Regions from separate parts of the Homo sapiens genome. Here all the other regions are linked to region 1. Evidence: promoter capture Hi-C in human tissues and cell types (Jung and others, 2019). All regions are on one chromosome and are shown on one strand. Each heading gives the region's core, a stretch centred on a gene start or on the middle of the fragment in contact. The rest is flanking DNA. Distances are from core to core; before and after follow the strand shown.

Evidence for each region. The method cuts DNA at HindIII sites, captures the fragments that hold promoters and counts their contacts. A contact is called where the count stands out against the background at its distance.
Region 2: a fragment that was not itself captured here is called in contact with the fragment with the promoter of PROKR2 in region 1 in 3 of the 25 tissues and cell types used here (aorta, pancreas and stomach).
Region 3: a fragment that was not itself captured here is called in contact with the fragment with the promoter of PROKR2 in region 1 in 7 of the 25 tissues and cell types used here (H1 embryonic stem cells, aorta, heart right ventricle and 4 more).

What each region holds. Positions count from the first base shown.
Region 1 is chr20:5,314,676-5,318,654 of GRCh38, reverse strand. It overlaps PROKR2 (prokineticin receptor 2), which reads left to right and starts at 1,701. Exons shown (of 3, transcript NM_144773.4): 1 at 1,701-2,161. The HindIII fragment of the contact is 13,355 bases long and covers 1-3,979 here.
Region 2 is chr20:5,376,828-5,380,806 of GRCh38, reverse strand. No RefSeq gene overlaps it. Among named protein-coding and RNA genes, the nearest start is that of PROKR2, 62 kb to the right of the region's middle. The HindIII fragment of the contact is 3,338 bases long and covers 335-3,672 here.
Region 3 is chr20:5,351,074-5,355,052 of GRCh38, reverse strand. No RefSeq gene overlaps it. Among named protein-coding and RNA genes, the nearest start is that of PROKR2, 36 kb to the right of the region's middle. The HindIII fragment of the contact is 4,632 bases long and covers 1-3,979 here.

The sequences.
Region 1 (3,979 bases), core at 452-2,951:
CAAGGCCTGAAGCTCTCTTCTTTTCAGCCTTGGGCTTTCTGCACCACACCGGGACACAACTCAAAAGTGAGGGAAATTCTGGCTCTCAGGGAATCTGTCCATCAGTAGGGGGTAGGAATCGATGGCTGAATGTCCAGCCTCCCCGCGCTGCTGTGAACAACCATGAGGCATGTTCTACACGGTCTGCAGGTCAACTGGAGTGAGCCGCAGTGGCACCCTGCTCGTTAGCATATCGTGTATGGGCCCTTCTCCCTTCCCTGCCTCACTTCCCCTCCCCCTGTGTGTGCTTCCCGGGATCTGCTCCCAATAAACTACCTGCACTCAGGTCTTTGTCTGGGAGTCTCCTTGGGGGAAACCTAAACTAAGACAACTCCCCGTAGCACTCTGTTGCACTGTTTTCTAAGCACCCACTGTCTCCCTGGGGACCACATGTCCATCCCCAGAAAAAGCTCCTACTCTGCTGAGGGTGGTCAGGACTTGGAGTTACTACAGCGACATCTGTGGGTCGCCAGATCTGTGTGGAAGCAACCATGCCTTAACTCATCTCAGAGGATTCCATGAAAGCACCAGCGGGCAGATGGTCCCAGGGGTCTGTTTGCCCCCATTGAATAGGGCAGGCATGGTCCATGAGCGAAGAAGCCTCTAGCTGAAGTTGGTAAGTATGCACTATTGCAAAGAATGTGTCCAGGGCGTACAACTGGCCACCCCATCATCTCCCCCACTCAAGCAACAGAGCTTTTTTGCCTCCATATCTGGAAGTTGCCCTGAGCATGTAGAACACCTGCCCAATCGCAGCCCCTCCCCAGGAGGAAAGCAAACAGCTGGCTCTCTTGCCTTTGATCATGCGGGAGAGATGCTAAGAGGTAGGGAGAGTGGGGTCAGGTTCCAGGTAAGGTGGGAAAAGCAGAATCACAGAATGTCACAACCTGAAGGAGTTTGAAGTTCATTTATCCAAAAATTTTTAATTGGCAGCCTTGTGGACTGTGTTCAGTCTGAGACAGGTTCTCTTTGACCAAAACAAGATTTTTGCTTTAACGAACCCAAAGACTATTTTTAAAGTTCTCGAATTCCAGATTCTCTTGAAAACAATGGGAAGCTCTGACAAAGTGGAGTCCATGTTCCCACCTGCCAATAATCCGCTGGCTGGGGTTTAACGATGGGGAACACCTTTTTAGACCTTCAGGGTCCTGCCACAGGTTCAATCCTGTATGCCCAGAGCTTCCTGGGCACCAGTCATTTGAATGGGCAGTTCCTGTGTTTAACCAGGAAGGTCGTGGGAGGATTTCGAACCTGTCAGAAGCAAAGTGAAGGGCTCCAGACTCTCCGGACAGATGGGCTGAGGCACTCCTGGGATTGTCTTTATACGGCCATGGAATCTGATAGTGGTGGTCATCGCAAAGTTTGGGTGAGGACTTCAGGGGCTTTGAGCAGAGCAAACTGTCCCCATCCCCAGCTTCCTCCTGGGGGCCTCCTCCTTCACCGCCATCTCCAAAGGCCCACACCGCACTCGTCGGAGCCGGGCTTTCCTTGAAAGGGTCACCTTCTAGTGGGCGCGGACGCTGGCACTGGGCACCTCCGGAAGACAGGACTCTCCCCTCCTGCGCGCGCGACCCGGGTGCGGTGCCACGACTGGCGGCAGAGGGCGGTGCTCACTGTTCCCAAGCGCACGGTAGAAACCCGGCTACTGTGTGGTCCGATTCAGACGGGATGCGAAGGCGCTGAAATCCGTGCGAGAGGCTGCCCCCGCTGCCGGGGACTCGCGTCAGCGCGGCCGGAGCTACGGTGCCCGCGCCCTGGACGCACCAGCCCGAGAGCACGCGGTGGGGTGGGGGAGCTGGGCATCCACCCTTGGCCTGGACTAGGAGGCAGGCGGGGACCCCGGGGCGGAGTCCAGCGCGGGGCGGGGCGCACAGGTCCGAGACGCTGGAAAGAGCTGTGGGGCCGGAGCGCCAACTCCAGCTGGAACCCAGAGACCCTGACACGCCGGAGGAGCCCGCCGGGGCGAGGAAAAAAGAGGGACATCCCCCACGCAGCGGCTCTGCAAGTGCAAGTCCGGGTCCTCGAGGTGAAAACCGAGCGGCCCGCCTGCGCCCAACCACACTGTGACTCTCGATCCGGCTTCCGGAGCAGCAGAGCGCACAGAAAGGAGGCGCCGAGACAGGTAAGGGCTTAGATCCCTGCAGTCCCGGGACTCAGTCGGTGCGGTGGGGGAGTCGCTAGGACAAGGGCCTCTGACGCCCACTTTTTTCTCGGGCATTCCGGCTGCTTTGCCTCCCGCCACTCTCGAGATATGCGTCGGGGCTGGCTCCAAGCAGGCGAGTTGGTTTCAGGAGATCCCCTCTGGGCCCTCTAGGACCGGGTAGGGTACGGTAAGCGGAGTCTGTGGTGTGCGGGCGCGGGCAGAGGGAGCCAGCGGGTAGCTGAGCTCGCGGACGAGCTCCAAATTGCAGGGGAGGGTGCAGGTAGAGGGGCACCTTCCTGAAAGGTGAGCAGGAAACAGCAAGCGTCCGTGGGGAAATTCCCGCGCACCGCATCCTCCACCCACCCGCCGTTTTCTTCCAGCCAGGAGGCACCGCAGCCTTTGCTTCTAGAGCCTGAATTTCTGACTTGATTCCTGTCTTTGCCAGGATGTCGCCTCTAGACGCCGACAGTGCGGCCGCGTTGATGGGGCGGGAAGGGGGCTGCTGGAACGGGTCGCTCCCGGGCGGGGAGTGCAATCTACGAAAATGCGGCTGGGACCTGTCCCAGCCCGGGCGCGCGCCCTCTTGTCTTGGGTTAGGGGGCTGGAAAGCCGAGGAGGGGTAGGACTCCCCATTCTTGGTCCCACGCTGAGCAGAGGCTGCGGGGATTGGGGTGTCGCATGAGACGGAGGGGCGACCTGGAGAGAAGACACCTCCGGGTGTGGACGCCACTGGGATTTGCATCTCGCCTCTTGGAGGTTTTCACCTTGGGAAAGCAGCTGGCGGGCGCACCCCAGGTTAGGGTGTCTTTTGCTGGCGCGCAGTTCCTGTCCCTCGGCGTTCTCCTCCCCTCGCAGGAGTGGACCAAATGCATTGTTCAGCTGGGTCATCTCCTTGCTACCCAGCATCCCGCGGCGCCCACATGTGGAGTCGTTTCCAGGTGTGCTGAGAGGCGAGGGGAAGGCCACTCACAGCTGGACAGCCAGGGCCCCTTTCTATAGGTGTTGGGATCTGGGCTCTTTTTCCAGCCCCTCGGTGAAGCCTTGTACCCTGGGGTGCCCTATCTCCTGCGGGCTGAGGGCTTCAGAGACTATTTTCCCTATTTTGAGACCTTGGTGACAGGACATGGTGCCTTTCAGGCAGGGTTGACTCTGGGTGGAGAACTAGGGCCAAGTGAAGGAGGTCAGAGAGCAGATCCAAAGTTGGAGTAGGGTGGGAAGGGCGGCAGAGGATTTCTTTCTGGAGCTGGTTCCCACAGAACGGGGAGCAGCAGGGGAATTCCCCTCCCCCACCCCACCACCACCTCCTCCACCTACAGCGCCCTGGTCATGCACTCAACAGATGTCTGTCTAGCCCCCACTATGCACCAGGCACTGGACTGGGCAGCAGGAATTTGGTTTACAGGAAGATTAGGACTCAGAGAGCATAAATCACTGGCCCAGGGTGACTCAGTCTGTCCATGTGAAAGTGAACTTGGTGATTTCCAAGTCTATGGCTTGGTCAGTACAGAAGGAGTGGTGTCCTGCTTTGGAGAGAAGACCCCGCAGCATCCTGGCCCTCCTGCTTCATTGTCCCTGGCCAACAGGTGCCACAACGTTGTGACAGCTGTAGGAGCCTGGCCAGCTCATGGGAGCATCCTTGGAAATGTTCCAGAAGCCCCTGTGGGAGCTGATGTGTTGGGGGCTGGAGGATGTGACTGGGCAGACAAAGAGGCCCTGGCCCCTGGGCAAAGGGCAAAGGTGCACATTCTTCTTGAGAGTTCTGGACAGTCTGATCCATCCTATGCTGTCCTTCCTGAC
Region 2 (3,979 bases), core at 754-3,253, 62 kb before region 1:
AGATTTAAACGTTAGACCTAAAACCATAAAAACCCTAGAAGAAAACCTAGGCATTACCATTCAGGACATAGGCGTGGGCAAGGACTTCATGTCCAAAACACCAAAAGCAATGGCAACAAAAGCCAAAATTGACAAATGGGATCTAATTAAACTAAAGAGCTTCTGCACAGCAAAAGAAACTACCATCAGAGTGAACAGGCAACCTACAACATGGGAGAAAATTTTCACAACCTACACATCTGACAAAGGGCTAATATCCAGAATCTACAATGAACTCAAACAAATTTACAAGAAAAAAACAAACAACCCCATCAAAAAGTGGGCGAAGGACATGAACAGACACTTCTCAAAAGAAGACATTTATGCAGCCAAAAAACACATGAAGAAATGCTCATCATCACTGGCCATCAGAGAAATGCAAATCAAAACCACTATGAGATATCATCTCACACCAGTTAGAATGGCAATCATTAAAAAGTCAGGAAACAACAGGTGCTGGAGAGGATGTGGAGAAATAGGAACACTTTTACACTGTTGGTGGGACTGTAAACTAGTTCAACCATTGTGGAAGTCAGTGTGGCGATTCCTCAGGGATCTAGAACTAGAAATACCATTTGACCCAGCCATCCCATTACTGGGTATATACCCAAATGACTATAAATCATGCTGCTATAAAGACACATGCACACGTATGTTTATTGCGGCACTATTCACAATAGCAAAGACTTGGAACTAAACTTCTTTTTTTATAAATTACCCAGCCTCATATATTTCTTTATAACAATGCAAGAAGGGGCTAACACACCTTCTTTTGAAACTATGTATATGACAGTGTCCCCAACTAGTATGTCTCTTTTTAACTGTGTTTTATGGAAGCATAATTCATATATGATGAAGGATACAATACTTACAATTCTTAAACATACATCTTGATGGCTTTATACCTCTAAGTTATGCCTGTGCAAGTTCCACCCCAATCAGAATTTAGAACAGAACATTTCCTTTTCTTTTCTTTTCTTTTCTTTTTTTTTTTTGGAGACAGGGTCTCGTTCTGCCACCCAGGCTGGAGTGCAGTGGCACAGGCTGGAGTGCAGTGGCACAATCTCCGCTCTCTGCAATCTCTGCCTCCCAGGTTCAAGCGATTCTCATGCCTCAGCCTCCCTAGTAGCTGGGATTACAGGTGCCCACGACCACGCCTGGCTAATTTTTGTATTTTTAGTAGAGATGGGGTTTCACCATGTTGGCCAGACTGGTCTTGAACTCCTGACCTCAAGTGATCCGGCCACCTCAGCCTCCCAAAGTGCTGGGATTACAGGCATGAGCCACCGTGCCCAGCCACAACTTAGAACATTTCTATCATTTCAGAAAGCTTCACTCTCCTCTTTCAAGTCAGTTGTTTCTAAGAATTTAGCATTTTCTCTTTTTGATAGGGCATTAGAAAGAAATAAGTTCATAAAAATAATGACTATGGTAACACACTCCCAAGTCCCTGGATTGGAATTGTGGTTTTCAAATGTGCTGATAGAGAGGGATTGTTCTTTACAGGTGGTGGAATGAGCATCTAACTGTGAGTCAGGAGACTCAGCTCTTCCAAATGGAGACATCAGTAAGGAAGTCCTTGCATTTCTCCTCATTCAAATCCTTCATATGTGAAATGAGCATTTGGGGTCAGAGAGCTGAGGGTTTTTTCAGCTTTAGGATTGGAAGCATTTGTAAATACTTAAAAGAATAAAGATGCTTATTACTTCTAAAACCCCAACAGTGTCAGACACACGGTAAGTGTGCAAATAATGTTAGCCACTCATTACTATCACCATCATCATCATCATCAGCCTTTCTTAATCGTTAAAGGATCAGAGAGATAGCTTTACTATTCATATTGTTTTTTCAAAATCGAAAATAGCGTTTATTTTCCAGCTATATGAATAACACACGTTCAGTGTTTCTGAAAATTCAAAAAGTAGAGAAAAGAAAAAGAAAGAATTTAGGAAAAAACTCTGAGACCCTCATTACCATTTATAGTTTGATAACCAGCTTTTCATTTCTCTTTCTTTCTCTGTATATTTACATATATAAACTTTCAAAGATGTTTTATTTTGGACACTTTTATCTGTTTTGTCTTTCTCCCCCTACCTCCAGTTCCCTCTTTTTCACCCTTCCAGGTATCTCATCATTCACAAGCTGGTATGGTATCCATCCACAATGTTCTCTGTGTTCACCTAATCATACATATGTATGTATTCACATATAAAAAGGATTTTTATGTTGTTTTACAGCTATAAATGATATATATTCATTTATATAGACATACATGTAGATATATATGTAATATATAGCCATATACCTGTGTTTTTATTTTTCTTTCTTATGACAACTAAAGCCATTAGTTATTGTACACATAATATGTTTCAGGCACCTTCTAAGCATTTAGATTTGTCATATCAACTGATCTAGTTCTACTACATATGTTTAAAGGCAACTTGACACTGCCTGGAAAGAATGACCATATATTAAATCAATGGGTTGTTAATATGTATTCATGATGTTTCAGATATTTTTCTACTAAAAATGTGGTAAATAACAAGTAAAAAATATTCTAGAAGTGGAATCTCTAGGATGAAGGTGTATGTGTTTTTAATTTTAAATATATTGGCTGCCAGGTGTCGTGGCTCATGCCTGTAATCCCAGCACTTTGGGAGGTCCAGGTGGAAGGATTGCTGAGCCCATGAGTCTGAGATCAGCCTAGGCAACACGTTGAGACCCTGTCCCTATAAAATATATATATTGTGTTAGCCTCCTCCACTGAGGGAGAGGCAGAGTAGTTTTGGTCTCACTGTATCAGGAGTTCCTGTGACGTTCTGCTGGAGTCCCATCACATTATGTAAAAGTACGGTGGATGACACCAGAAAATGGGTGGGGGGGGGGACATAAATGTAGCACCTTCCACCCCCAGCAACTCCCCAGGCCACCCCAATCAGAGCCCTGCATGGGAGGATTCCACTCCCAAAGCTACGTTTGCATGCACACATGGCCCATATTTATAAGGTTCCACTCTGCAGAGTATAGAACTCAAGTCCAGATGGGAAAGAATAAGTCACAACTAAATTCATTGATGATGATGCAATCCTAAAAGAGAATCTTGGGAAGGTAGACATATAGGGTACAGATATTGCCCTGAAAAATTCAGTGATGTCCAAAGCTTCCAAGATGCACCTTCTAGACTATGTATTCAGTTTCCTCCAGGACTCCAACAAACAAAAGCATACAACAATGAGGGTCTGCCCAGCCCCTTTATTCAGTGTGGAAACAGATATCTGATTCTGAAGGGCTGCTGGCAGGCATGAAGATTTGGATGAGTAGCTCACCCTGCCAAGAAAATGGAGGCAAGCTGGCAAGAGCAGAGGTAGAGCCCTTCAGCAATGGCCTTTTCAGAGAAGAAATCCCCTCCCACTCCAGAAAGGATCTGCTCAATACCTGAGTACTCTCCAGGAAACCTGAGTGTGCCACAGAAGCAGCACCATGGTAGGAGCTTGGCCACTATGGACAGCAATGCCAACATCTACCGCCTGATACAAAAGATGGAGATAATGGTGAACCCACTCTTTCAACATGTCCTAGCTGCTTAACAAGGTGAACCTGCTTTCTGTGGAGCAGAACTAAGAAGCAGATGAGTCCCACGGAGATAAAGGCTAAATCACAGGTACTCACTTGCCCCCAAACACAAAACATGGCAATTAAGTTCCAATATATTGTGGACCAGAACTTGGATGCTGTTCTAGTCATCTACTGCTATGTAAAACAACAACAAAAACAAAACCAGCAACAAAACATCTCAGTAGTTAAAACAACAAAAGTCATTTTGCTCATAAATCTGCCATTTTGACAGGGCTTGGAGGGTACAGTTCATCTCTGCTCAATGTGGTGTCAACTGAAGCAACTGGGGTTGAGTATCCACTTTCAAGGATGGGTCACTCTTATG
Region 3 (3,979 bases), core at 984-3,483, 36 kb before region 1:
ACACTCAGAGGCCAGTTATTCATGAAATGGAGCATGATGTTGCTAGATAACTCTGTTAGAAAAATCTTCCTTATCTTGAACCAAAGTCCACAACCCTATAAAAATGGCACACTCACCTTTGTCTACACATAGAACAATGTGGAATATGTTTATGTCCCCTGAATGTTCCTCCAGTAATACATTCCACAGCTATTTACTGAATGTCTACTCTTGAGGGCTTAGGGATCCAGAGGCAGACAACAGATGAAGTTCCTGTTGTTGAAGAGGTTATACCCCAGAGGCAAGAGAGAGAAAATGAACAAGCAAGGACAAAAATAAGCAAGAAAACAAACCACTGTTGGCTGCATTCCCAATTTGTATATTCCTATATTGTACAGTCTTGATATAAGGGTGTTTCCCAGTGCTGGCCTCCTCTGCCTCCTTCTGCATAGACAGGGTCCAGTATGTACCCTTAGACAGTAGGATGCTTACTTGTCTAGGACTTGAGCAAGTACCACAAACATGGAGGGGATATTGGGAGACCTTGGTGGCATTTGTAGGAGGCATTTCCTGGGTCCTGACCATGCCTACACTTCCCTTACTTTCTACCCAATCTTCCACCCCAGTCTCTAATTTTAACCCCTACTTGTGCAAGCCCAAATTCCCTTTCAATTAATGTCACTTTGGTTTAAGACAGCCAGCAGTAGTTTCTGCTGGTTGAAGTAAAATTCCCTGACTGGTACAATAAAATTATTTCCTGTGTGAGTCACCTTTTCTCTAGACTATACTGTGTTAGTGTCGTCAGACTTTCCTTGAATGAGTTGTTTTCCAAATCACTCTCCATCTCACCCTCTGATCATTATATTGTGGAACTCACAAACAGCCCCCACACTTCTCCTCTTTGGTTGTAGGGGTGGGGAAAAGATATGAACACAGAATTTTAAATTAAAATTATTTTTTTAATTAAATTTAATTTTAATTTTTTAAATTTAATTAAATTTTAATTTAAAATTCTGTGTTCATATCTTCCCCCACCACTACAAAAGTAAGCAATTAACTTATTTGCTTATTGTATAAGCAATTAATTAATTTAATTTACATTTACATTTAAATTTTAAATTCTGTGTTTGTGTCTTCCCCCCCGCCCCACAACCGAAGAGGGGAAATGTGGGGGCCGTTTCTGAGTTATATCCACATTATAATGATCAGAGGGTGAGGTGGAGAATGATCTGGAAAACAACTGATTCAAAGAAAGGCTGAAGACACTAACAGTACAGTCTAGAGAAAAGGTGACTCACACAGGAAATATTTTATTTTTCTACTATTTGTTCTGGAACATATGCATTATGCAGGCAATAGGAAAGTGTTTATATTTTACTTTTTAAAAAATGTTATTTTAATCAATCTATACTCAGTGATTCTATCCTATTCTGATAGAAACATGGAAAAGTGGGGCTAAGCCTCTTTGAGGACAGCAACAGATTGTAAAATTTTCCTTGTATTTCTCTGATAAACCACTGCATAATAATTGTGTTTTGGCTATACTTGTCTCCTGAAATATGTTTAGTGTGGTTTGAAAAAGATTAGACACACAAAAAATTATTGGCTCACAGACCTAGGGTTGAGCAGTTCAGATCTTGAGGGATGAAGATGCAGAGGCCTCCTTGACAGTGACACTGTGTCTCTGGAATACAAGCTTTGCACATCATACTTTATTTTCTGGGACATTGTCCCCAGCCCAGCATGTCCCCTGCTAAAGCCACCTCCTCCTGCCATTCCTGGCTTAGCTGGATCTTTCTCTGTAGCTTCAGTACCCTGCTACATACCTCTCAACGCCATGCATTTCCCCTTCAAGATGATTCAGTATCTGTCCTTGTTCATCACCATGAGAGTAGAGAGAGTGTTGATCACAGCCAAATCCCCAACATCTAGCTATGTGCCTGGCAAGTGGCAGGCTCTCAAAACCTAGTGCACTGAGTTGAATTGGTAGAGAAAGATGTAAAGAAGAAAATCCACAGATTTTTCCAGAACATATGCATTATGCAAGCAATAGGTATGTCTTTATATTTTACTTTTTAAAAAATTATATTTTAGGCTGGGCGCAGTGGCTCACACCTGATATCTCAGCACTTTGGGAGGCCGAGGCGGGCGGATCACGAGGTCAGGACATCGAGACCATCCTGGCTAACACGGTGAAACCCCGTCTCTACTAAAAATACAAAAAAAAAAATTAGCTGGGCCTGGTGGTGGGCGCCTGTAGTCCCAGCTACTCGGGAGGCTGAGGCAGGAGAATGGCGTGAACCCGGGAGGCGGAGCTTGCAGTGAGCCGAGATCGCGCCTCTGCACTCCAGCCTGGGCGACAGAGCAAGACTCCGTCTCAAATAATAATAATAATAATAATAATAAAATGATATTTTAATCAAACTCTACTCGATATGATTTGGCTCTGTGTCCTCACCCAAATCTCATCTTGAATTGTACTCCCATAATTCCCACGTGTTATGGGAGGGACCTGATGAGACATAATTTGAATCATGGGGGCAGTTTCCTCCATACTGTTCTCGTGGTAGTGAATAAGTCTCATGAGATCTGACGGTTTTATCAGGGGTTTCCACCTTTGCATCTTCCTCATTTTTCTCTTGCTGCCCCCATGTAAAAGTGCCTTTCACCTCCCGCCATGATTCTGAGGCCTCCACAGCCATGTGGAACTATAAGTCCAATTAAACCTCTTTTTCTTCCTAGTCTCGGGTATGTCTTTATCAGCAGCATGAAAATGGACTAATACAATACTCCAGTCTGAATATGCTGTAGGAGAAACAGTGAAGGAGGCCAGATTGGAATGCTCAAGCTTTCCAGTGTGAGCCTACCTCGCTTTGGAAAACAGCTTGAGCTGCTTTAGGTCCTCAGGCTCCCATCACTTCCCGACCCTCTCCACGGAGACCAGCTCTCTGCTAGACTTTCACCTTGTCCCTGGAAAAAGCCCAGAACTCCAAGTTCACAGCCAAGCTTTTTCACTAACCCAGCATACAGCCTTCGGGAGGTCACTTTAGCCTCTGTGGGCTTCATTTCACTTACCGTCAAATAGGCAGATTGTACAAAAGGACCTTGAATATTCCTTTCACCCCAAAACCCAGGAATCTAATTAGGATAGAGTTGCAGTGGGATTTTCCCATTAAACCCCAATCTGTGTAATGAAAATAAGACCAGGCCCTGCAACTGTCAGAGGGGAGCATTATTCTTTCCTAAACTACCCTGTCAATTATAACAGCAGAGGGGCTGCACCATGCCATGTGGGGTTTGAATAAATGCGGATCATGTTGGGTTTTTCTGTTGTTGTTTCTCCTTTGTGTTACTTATCTAAAATTCAGGTTAAGCCAGGCATATGTAATAAGTATTTGTGCTTTCTGGAAAGCAGCTGTAATGATTTGTGAATGTCTTCGTTGTAAGTTCAAAGCATCTCCTAGAGGCTCATTTTACTCAATAAAATCACTTCCTCTAAAAGCTCTGCCCATGTATTTACCACCTTATGGAGAACAAATAATCACACAGACATTTTCTCTTTTATGAAATTCCAAACATGATTTAAGAGGGTCCTCTAGGGGAAAAAAATGGTGAAACCGGTATTTTTTTAAAAAACAATCTGGGGAAGTCATTCATTAATTAAAAACTAAATTACACTGACAAAACTTTACCCTAAAACACTACCAAGATGTATTTTAAAGCACTTCATAAACTCCTAATCATTTGCAACTGTTAGCACTCTGTTCCAAGTGAGGTTTTAGAAATTAATCCACACAACCACACGGGTCACTAACGTTCCTCATCTCATGCACTGAAAGCAAGAGATGGACCAAAACCTCAAATTATAGGCTGTAAAAAAAAAATGCTGTAGGAAAATCACATCAGGATTCAAACACTTTACGACACCCACCAATACTTTTAAAAATTTGTATGGAAGTATAATAGCATACAGACAGAAAAGTGCAAAAATGGTAAGCTT